3 separate regions of the Homo sapiens genome follow, and all the other regions are linked to region 2. The links are contacts of gene promoters, found by promoter capture Hi-C in blood cells and fetal thymus (Javierre and others, 2016). All regions are on one chromosome and are shown on one strand. Each heading gives the region's core, a stretch centred on a gene start or on the middle of the fragment in contact. The rest is flanking DNA. Distances are from core to core; before and after follow the strand shown. Region 1 overlaps MRPS23 (mitochondrial ribosomal protein S23). Region 2 holds the start of VEZF1 (vascular endothelial zinc finger 1). Region 3 has its middle 24 kb from the start of MRPS23.

Region 1 (2,700 bases), core at 2-2,501, 140 kb after region 2:
GCTTGAAACTAGAAGGTGGAGGTTGCAGTGAGCTGAGAGTGCACCACTGCACTCCAGCCTGGGCAACAGAGGGAGACCCTGTCTCCAAAAAAAAAAAAAGTTTTGTTTTTTTCTGATCTAAGTATTTTTTTTTTTTTCGAGATGGAGTCTCACTCTGTCTCCCAGGCTGGAGTGCAGTGGCGCAATCTCGGCTCACTGCAAACTCTGCCTTCCGGGTTCATGCCATTCTCCTGCCTCAGCCTCCTGAGTAGCTGGGACTACAGGCGCCCACCACCACAGCTGGCTAATTTTTTGTATTTTTAGTAGAGACAGGGTTTCACCGTGTTAGCCAGGATGGTCTCAATCTCCTGACCTCGTGATCCGCCTGCCTCGGCCTCCCAAAGTGCTGGGATTACAGGCGTGAGCCACCGCGCCCGGCCTCTTTATTCTCTTTTTTTCCAAAACTTAAATAGTCACAGAAAATGTGCTCCTAATGGTTGCCTAGGAACATTCTTTTTTTTTTTTTTTGAGATGGAGTCTCGCTCTGCCACCCAGGCTGGAGTGCAGTGGTGTAATTTCAGCCCCATGCAACCTCCACCTCCCGGGTTCAAGCTGTTCTCCTGCCTCAGCCTCTTGAGTAGCTGGGATTACAGGCTCACGCCACCATGCCTGGCTAATTTGTATTTTTAGTAGAGATGGGGTTTCACCATGTTGGTCAGGCTGGTCTCAAACTCCTGACCTCGTGATCCGCCCGCCTTGCCTCCCAAAGTGTTGGGATTACAGGTGTGAGCCACCGTGCCCGGCCTCCTAGCAACATTCTTAAAAATATCTTTAAAGTTCTCTATTTTTTCTTTTTTTTATTTTTTATTTTTAATTTATTTTTATTATTTTTTATTTTTTATAGTATTTATTGATCATTCTTGGGTGTTTCTCGGAGAGGGGGATTTGGCAGGGTCATAGGACAATAGTGGAGGGAAGGTCAGCAGATAAACATGTGAACAAGGGTGTCTGGTTTTCCTAGGCAGAGGTCCCTGCGTTCTTCCGCAGTGTTTGTGTTCCTGGGTACTTGAGATTAGGGAGTGGTGATGACTCTTAACGAGCATGCTGCCTTCAAGCATCTGTTTAACAAAGCACATCTTGCACCGCCCTTAATCCATTTAACCCTGAGTGGACACAGCACATGTTTCAGAGAGCAGGGGGTTGGGGGTAAGGTTATAGATTAACAGCATCCCAAGGCAGAAGAATTTTTCTTAGTACAGAACAAAATGGAGTCTCCCATGTCTACCTCTTTCCACACAGACACAGTAACAATCTGATCTCTCTTTCTTTTCCCCACATTTCCCCCTTTTCTATTCGACAAAACCCCCATCGTCATCATGGCCCGTTCTCAATGAGCTGTTGGGTACTCCTCCCAGATGGGGTGGCGGCCGGGCAGAGGGGCTCCTCACTTCCCAGACGGGGCGGCCGGGCAGAGGTGCCCCCCACCTCCCGGACGGGGCAGTGGCCGGGCGGGGGTGCCCCCCACCTCCCTCCCGGACGGGGCGGCTGGTCGGGCGGTGGCTACCCCCCACCTCCCTCCCGGACGGGGCGGCTGGCCAGGCGGGGGCTGCCCCCCACCTCCCTCCCGGACGGGGCGGCTGGCGGAGCAGGGACTGCCCCCTACCTCCCTCCCAGACGGGGCGGCTGGCTGGGTGGGGGCTGCCCCCCACCTTATTTTTTTCATACAAAAAAAAAAAACAAAGATGTCACACTTCTTTGGGACTACTTTTCTGTTTTCATGTTTCCCCTTTTGTGTGCCCTGAATTTTGTTCATACTGCCCCTGTTGTGGCCTTAGCCTGTCTTTAATAGCTCTACATTCCAAATGCCCTGTCTTTATTCAATAACAAACATTCATTAAGCACTGTCATGGGCCAGGCATTGTCAAATTCATTCTTGTAACTTCAGTGCCTAGCCCATTGTGTGGCATATAAGTTGCTTATTAATCGTCTCTTGAATGAAGAAGCTAATGGATTAATGGACAGATGAACTATGAGGCTGGTAGAGAGAAACGAAAGAAAATTCCTTGGAGAGGAATGGTGGAGGGCCAGGACTGGGACTGTTTGGAGAATGGCCATCAGAATTTTATTAGTTTTCTGAAACAATTTCAGGAACAGTGGGCTAGAAACCACTTCTATGGCCACATTTAGCATCCCTATACATTTATGTAAGATCTAAGTAAGTGGTAAATCTCTCACTGGGAGTTTACTGACAAAGCCCCTCCCCTTGAATACTGATGTTAATTAGCTTTTAGTACCTTGAATTTGTCTAGTTCCTTTTTCTCTTAAATATTTATACCAATGAGTGTGCCTAATTGACTTTGATACACATCCCTTATTCTTACTGTTGTTTCAGGATGCTAGAAAATGGAATTTATAAGGTCATTATGTTCCGAATTGGGGCCCAGGCTTTCACCCCGGGACCCCCAACACCAACACTCATTTAAAGTAGCAGAACAAGTATGTTCTTGTTCTACTTGGATATTTTCGGCATACAACATGAGATCTTTGAGGAGATTAAATGCTTTTTCAGCACCTTTCTTCTCAGACCCATTGCATGCACTTTGTGGTTCATTGATACATTAAAATCATTTGTGCTTTGCTCTCACATGTAATCCTGGCACTTCAGGAGGCCGAGGCGGGTGGATCACTTGAGGTCAGGAGTTCGAAACCAGCCTGGGCAAC
Region 2 (2,700 bases), core at 20-2,519:
TGTCTATGGGGGAAGTTGGAGATGGTGACCTTGATTAGAAGTGTCTGGAGGGGGATAAATGGAGGGGATAAGATTCAGTTGGTTTTGGAAAATGTTAAAGTCTTAAAATAATGCGTCCATCTGAAGAATTTTTTCTAAAACCAGAGTTTATAAAAATATCACTGATACAGCCTGCCCCCTCATTTCCCTGCCACAGGAGATGTCTTGGACTAGAGACACTTGTTTAATAATAGCTTGTCTCTGATATTCCCAGTAGCTTCCCTCTGTGTGAGGAAAGGATAGAAATGTTCAGGACATCATCATACAGGCTCCTCATCTACAAAGTTCCAGTAGCAGTGACGCCTACACGGAAGACTTGGAACTGCAAACAGGCTGGGGTCACCTCAGTGACATCTGACGCTGTCCAACCAGAAGTTCGATTTTTGTTCTGGGGGTGAAGGAGGAAACAGACTGTACTAAAGGACTAAAATAATTTGTCTATACTATCTCACTTGTTTTTATTTTTGGCGGGAGAGGAGGGGTGTTGGGATAGAATTTCACATCCTATCTTGGAGTGAAGGGGAGGATGGGGAGGCTCAGCCCTTCACCCAAGAATAACCCAGTAATGACATCTCTACGCGTGGGAAGTGTTTCCCTCCACACTGAGAGGATCTGAGGCTGCACCCCAGTGGGATTCCCTGCTTGAGTTGGAAGGCCATCTCGCCATGAGATGCATATCATAGCGAGAGCGCAGAGGGCTTAGCCGGCCGGGGAGGAAATGCCAAAAGGAAGAGAGGCTCGAAGTCGAAAGGGCTTCCCCCAGTTTGGAGGTGGGGACCATGCTGTGCATGAGCGACTGAAGAGCCGAGTGTCCGCCGTGGCCTGTGCCCTCCGCTGAGGGTCTAACAGGGACGCGACGGTGCTGGACACCGTGTCTGAGTCACGGGAGACGGCCCAGCTGTGCCCAGCGGGCCAGCGCCAGACCCTGGCGTCCTCCATCTTCTCTCCTGAGCTCCCCCTGCTCCAGCTGCCTGAGCCACGGACCGCAGCACCACACACCCCCGCGGGGGGGGACGCCGCGCCCCATCCCCGCCCCGGGCCCCACCCCAGCCCCCCCGCGGGGGCCCTGACCCCACCGCCAGCGGGCACTGGCTGAGCTCCGAGGCGGCGAGCCGGCAGCGGGGACGCCCAGAGGGGGTCCGGGCGACTGGGGGCGGCGGCGGCCGGGCCGGGGCTCCCCCCCCGCCCGCGCTCGCCGCCGCGGTGGTGCGTCCCGGAGGTTACCGGAAGTGGCCGCGCTCGGCGCTGCCATGTTGAGGAGCCGCCGCTGCCGTTGCCGCCGCCGCCGCCGCCGCTTTGTTGTCGCCTCCTCCGGCTGAGGAGGCTCCCCGAGCGGGGGGAGTGGGGAGGAGGGGGGTCGGCCGCCGCAGCCATGGAGGCCAACTGGACCGCGTTCCTGTTCCAGGTACTGGGGGCCCCCCCGGGGGGGCACGGGGGGGACAGGGGGGCCGGGCCCCGGGCTGGCGGGCGGGCGGGCGCTCCTCCTCCCCTCCCTCCCGGCTCCGCTCTCCGGCCCGGCCTTAATCCCCCTTTGTTTTTCCGCCCGCCCGCCCCGGCGAAGCGGGGCTGCTGAGGTGAAAGGAGGCGGCCTCACGGGGTGCGGGGGAGATAGCAGGCCGCGGGGTGAACCCGGGGGCCCCCCAGCACACACACGCACACACACACACTCACACACACCCTTCCCTCTCGCTCTGAAGGGGAAGGGAGGAGGCCGGTCGCTGTCACCACCCCGCGGCCCAGAGAAAGGAGGGCGCCGGGCCGCTGGATAGCGCGGGCTGCTGGGCCATTGCGTGCCGGCCCGGTCCCCCACGGTGGGGTGAGGAGGTCCCCAGGTCCTGCCCTGAGTCTCCTCCCCGCCACTTCATCCATCTTTCGCTTGTTCTCTTTTCACCTTCCTCGTCTTTTTGTGTGTGTGCGTGCGTGTGTTGACTTTCTGACCCCCTCCCGTGTCCCCGCGAATAGCGGGTATCCCCAGGTTCCCCGCCACTCCCCCTCACCGCCACCACCCCTCTCGTGTTTACCCAGTTGGGGGGGCGGATGTTGTGAGTGTGTATCCCCTCCCCAAACTTTTTCACTGGATTTACATTTTTTTTTCCCAAGTCTCAGCCGAGCCTTGGCAGCTGACACCTTCTCCCTCTGTCCAGCTCTCCCGCCGTCCCATTCAGCCTGGGGAATCCCCCAGCCGGGCCGGCCCGGGGCAGGCGGGGAGCGGTGGGGGCCGGGACTCCTGGAGGCCCGACCTTCTCCCGAAGCGCTTTTCTTTCTCGCCCACCTCGAACGTTTCCTCCAACCAAGTGGAGAGAGCAAACAAAGTCCGCTTACAAAGCCCCCAGATGAGTCACTCTCTGGGATGTTGGTCTTCGCTTTTTTGCAAGAAACTTGAAAGTGACTGTAGCCGATGTGTTTTGGCAATTCTCTTGCCCGCCCACTTTAGATGGGGGACCCCTGTTTGGCAGATCTAGGCTGGAACTTATTTTTTTCCTACTTCGTTTCTGTTTGCAAAACGAAGCATTCAGTGGGCAGTAGCGATGAGCTCACGGGGAAACTTCGGAACTGGAGGAGGTTAGGAAGCTCGTCACTTTTAAGTGCGTTCTTCCCGCCTCTCTGAGTTATTTTCCTTTGAATACTTCGTGAAATCCCAAACGCGTAGCTGGGGCGCTT
Region 3 (2,759 bases), core at 12-2,511, 160 kb after region 2:
ACCAGGCCCGGCTAATTTTGTATATTTAGCAGAGACAGGGTTTCTCCATGTTGGTCAGGCTGGTCTCTAACTCCCATCCTCAGGTGATCCGCCCGCCTCGGCCTCCCAAAGTGCTGGAGTACAGGTGTGAGCCACGGTGCCTAGCTGGCTCCCGCCTTTGTAAGATGAAGGTAAGAGCCAATGGTTTCAACAGACAGCTGGATGGACTCAGGGTCCAAGAAGTCTGAGTGATCATGAGAAGAACTAAACAGAGGGTGAATGCTTTCAGATCCCAGGACTGTAGGATATCTTTATGGCTTGTCTGCAGCTATGGGTCCCAGGCCCCTGAGCAGGAATCTGAAGGAGGGTCCTTCCCAGAGTTAAGGCTGTGTCAGTCCCCAGGCTACTGTGGTCAAGTCGGCCTGCTTCCCTCTTGCTCATGAAGGTCTGTTCTCTCTGGAAATGTCCCAGAAGCTGGCAATAAAGACAGTTCCCTTTATAGAGCAGCTGCTTCTTTTTTAAAATTTAATTATTTTTAATTTTTTCTTTTGGAAACAGGGTCTCGCTATGTCACCCAGGCTGGAGTGCAGTGGCATGATCAAAGCTCACGGTAGCCTCTACTTCCCAGGCTCAAGCGATCCTCCTGCCTCAGCCTCCTGAATAGCTGGGACTACAGGTGTATGAGACCCTGTCTCATTTTTCAATTTTTTTGTACAGATGGGGTCTTTCTTTGTTGCCCAGCCTGGTCTTGAACTCCTGGGGTCAAGCGATCCTCCTTCCTGACCTCCCAAAGTGCTGGGATTACAGGTGTGAGCCACCTCGCCCAGCTGAGCTGCTGCTTCTGAAGCCTGCTTTGACATTAAGCTGTTACAATGCATTGAGGGATGCTAGGAAATGGTTGTATGAGGCATACTTTTGTTTTTTTCTGTGGGAATGTTACTGACCATTTTTTCCTCTATGAAGACCCGTGGGATAAATATCTTTCACGTTTTAGCTTAAGGAATAAAAAACTGTGCTGCTTTTGAACAACTTGGGTGGTTTGCTTCTGCGGTCTTGGCAAATTTGGTGTCTTAGTTTCCCTCTTAGCTTTGGCTGTGGGGAAATTCAGAGCTTAATTTACAGTTACATGCAGCTCTGGAGTAGGAGATGGCATTATTTTTGATTATTATGAAATATTTCAGGCATTCAAAAATTACAGAGACTCTACAACAAATATCTACTTACCCATCACCCAGGTTAAGACATGAGCTTCTTGTATCCATTCCTGATCCCTTTCTTCTTTGTCCCTACTCTCGTGGTGGATATTTTCCTGGACTTGGTGTTTATCTTCCCTACTTAAAAAATAATAATTTTTTCTACAAACGTATGTATCTATAATAAACATACAGTATTGTTTTACACATTTAAAAATATTATAAAAGTGGCTTTATACTGCATGTATCCCTCTGTAATTTGATCTTTTTACTCAAGAGTTTTCTTTTGAAACTCACCTGTTTTGCCACATGTAACTCTAGTTAATTCATTTTCACTGCTGTACAATATTCTATTCTAAGACTAGATGTATGAATATGTAGGCTTTAAGAGTATGGCTCTGGGGCCAGGCTGCCTTGGTTCAAACCCCAACCCTGCCACTTACTAGTTCTGTGACCTTGGGCAAGTGACTTAACCTCCTCTTCTCGTCTCTGTTTCTTCATCTGTAAAATGGGGCTAATGATACCACCTATCTAATAGAGGCGAAAATAAATGACTTAATAGGTGAAAAGCATTGAAAATATTCCTGGTATATAGTGTAAGACTTGGTCTCATAAGCACTAATGGAACATTCTTTTAAGAAATGCCATATCACTAATGTCCTTCATGGAACAGAACAGGAAGGTATGTAGAAAAGCACAGACATCAAAGACACTGAGTCTGAAAGGGATTCAGACATGTCAGACTGAACAGGAAGATGTTTAAGACCACATTAATAAACTTAATTCACCTGTAGCTTCTATTTTTATGTATGTAGTAGAATAAAAACACTATGCAAATAAATTAAAAAGAGTTATTTTCATAATTAAAAAAATAAACATTAGAAGGATTTTTGGCTGGGCATGGTGTCTCACGCCTGTAATCCCAGCACTTTGGGAGGCCAAGGCGGGTGGATCACCTGAGGTCAGGAGTTTGAGACCAGCCTGGCCAACATGGTAAAACCCCGTCTCTACTAAAAATACAAAAATTAGCCGGGCGTGGTGGTGGATGCCTGTAATCCCAGCTACGCGGGAGGCTGAGGCAGAAGAATCGCTTGAACCCAGGAGGCAGAGGTTGTGGTGAGCTGAGATCACGCCATTGCACTCCAGCCTGGGCAACAAGAGCAAAACTCCGTCTCAAAATAAATAAATAAATAAAAATAAAAATAAATAAATAAAAACAACAACAACAACAACAAAATGATTAGCCTGGTGTGGTGATGGACACCTGTAGTCTCAGCTACTTGGGAAGATCCCTTGAACTGCAGTGAGCTATGATTGTGTCACTGCAGTAAAGACTGGGTGACAGAGCTGAGACCCTGTCTCAAAAACAAAAAGTGATTTTTTAAAAAGAGAGTTGGCTATTATTGTTATATATTTATTTTCCTCTTGGAGGTTTCAGTTGTTTCCAGTTTTTTTTTTTTTTTGCTGTCTCTAGGATGTTGCAGGGAACATTATTATCCCTGTTTCTTTGTACATGTGTGCAAGGAAGAATCCCTCTGAGCCAGGGCATACAATTAGGAGTGAAATTGCTGGGCGGTAGGGCTCATC

The links. The method cuts DNA at HindIII sites, captures the fragments that hold promoters and counts their contacts. A CHiCAGO score of 5 or more calls a contact.
Region 1: a fragment that was not itself captured here is called in contact with the fragment with the promoter of VEZF1 in region 2 in 4 of 17 cell types (neutrophils, megakaryocytes, monocytes and 1 more); the score reaches 9.1 in neutrophils.
Region 3: a fragment that was not itself captured here is called in contact with the fragment with the promoter of VEZF1 in region 2 in 1 of 17 cell types (neutrophils); the score reaches 5.3 in neutrophils.

What each region holds. Positions count from the first base shown.
Region 1 is chr17:57,845,100-57,847,799 of GRCh38, reverse strand. The region is part of intron 2 of MRPS23 (mitochondrial ribosomal protein S23); the gene reads left to right. Among named protein-coding and RNA genes, the nearest start is that of MRPS23, 3.6 kb to the left of the region's middle. RefSeq lists an enhancer at 961-1,568. The HindIII fragment of the contact is 4,492 bases long and covers 1-2,700 here.
Region 2 is chr17:57,986,823-57,989,522 of GRCh38, reverse strand. It overlaps VEZF1 (vascular endothelial zinc finger 1), which reads left to right and starts at 1,269. Exons shown (of 6, transcript NM_007146.3): 1 at 1,269-1,444. The coding sequence starts at 1,412. It overlaps LOC101929185 (a long non-coding RNA gene), which reads right to left and starts at 1,413. Exons shown (of 1, transcript XR_001752716.3): 1 at 1-1,413. It also overlaps a transcript of SRSF1 not described here. RefSeq lists enhancers at 667-806, 827-876 and silencers at 1,027-1,306, 1,377-1,856, 1,937-2,006. The HindIII fragment of the contact is 4,468 bases long and covers 1-2,700 here.
Region 3 is chr17:57,824,933-57,827,691 of GRCh38, reverse strand. No RefSeq gene overlaps it. Among named protein-coding and RNA genes, the nearest start is that of MRPS23, 24 kb to the left of the region's middle. The HindIII fragment of the contact is 8,525 bases long and covers 1-2,759 here.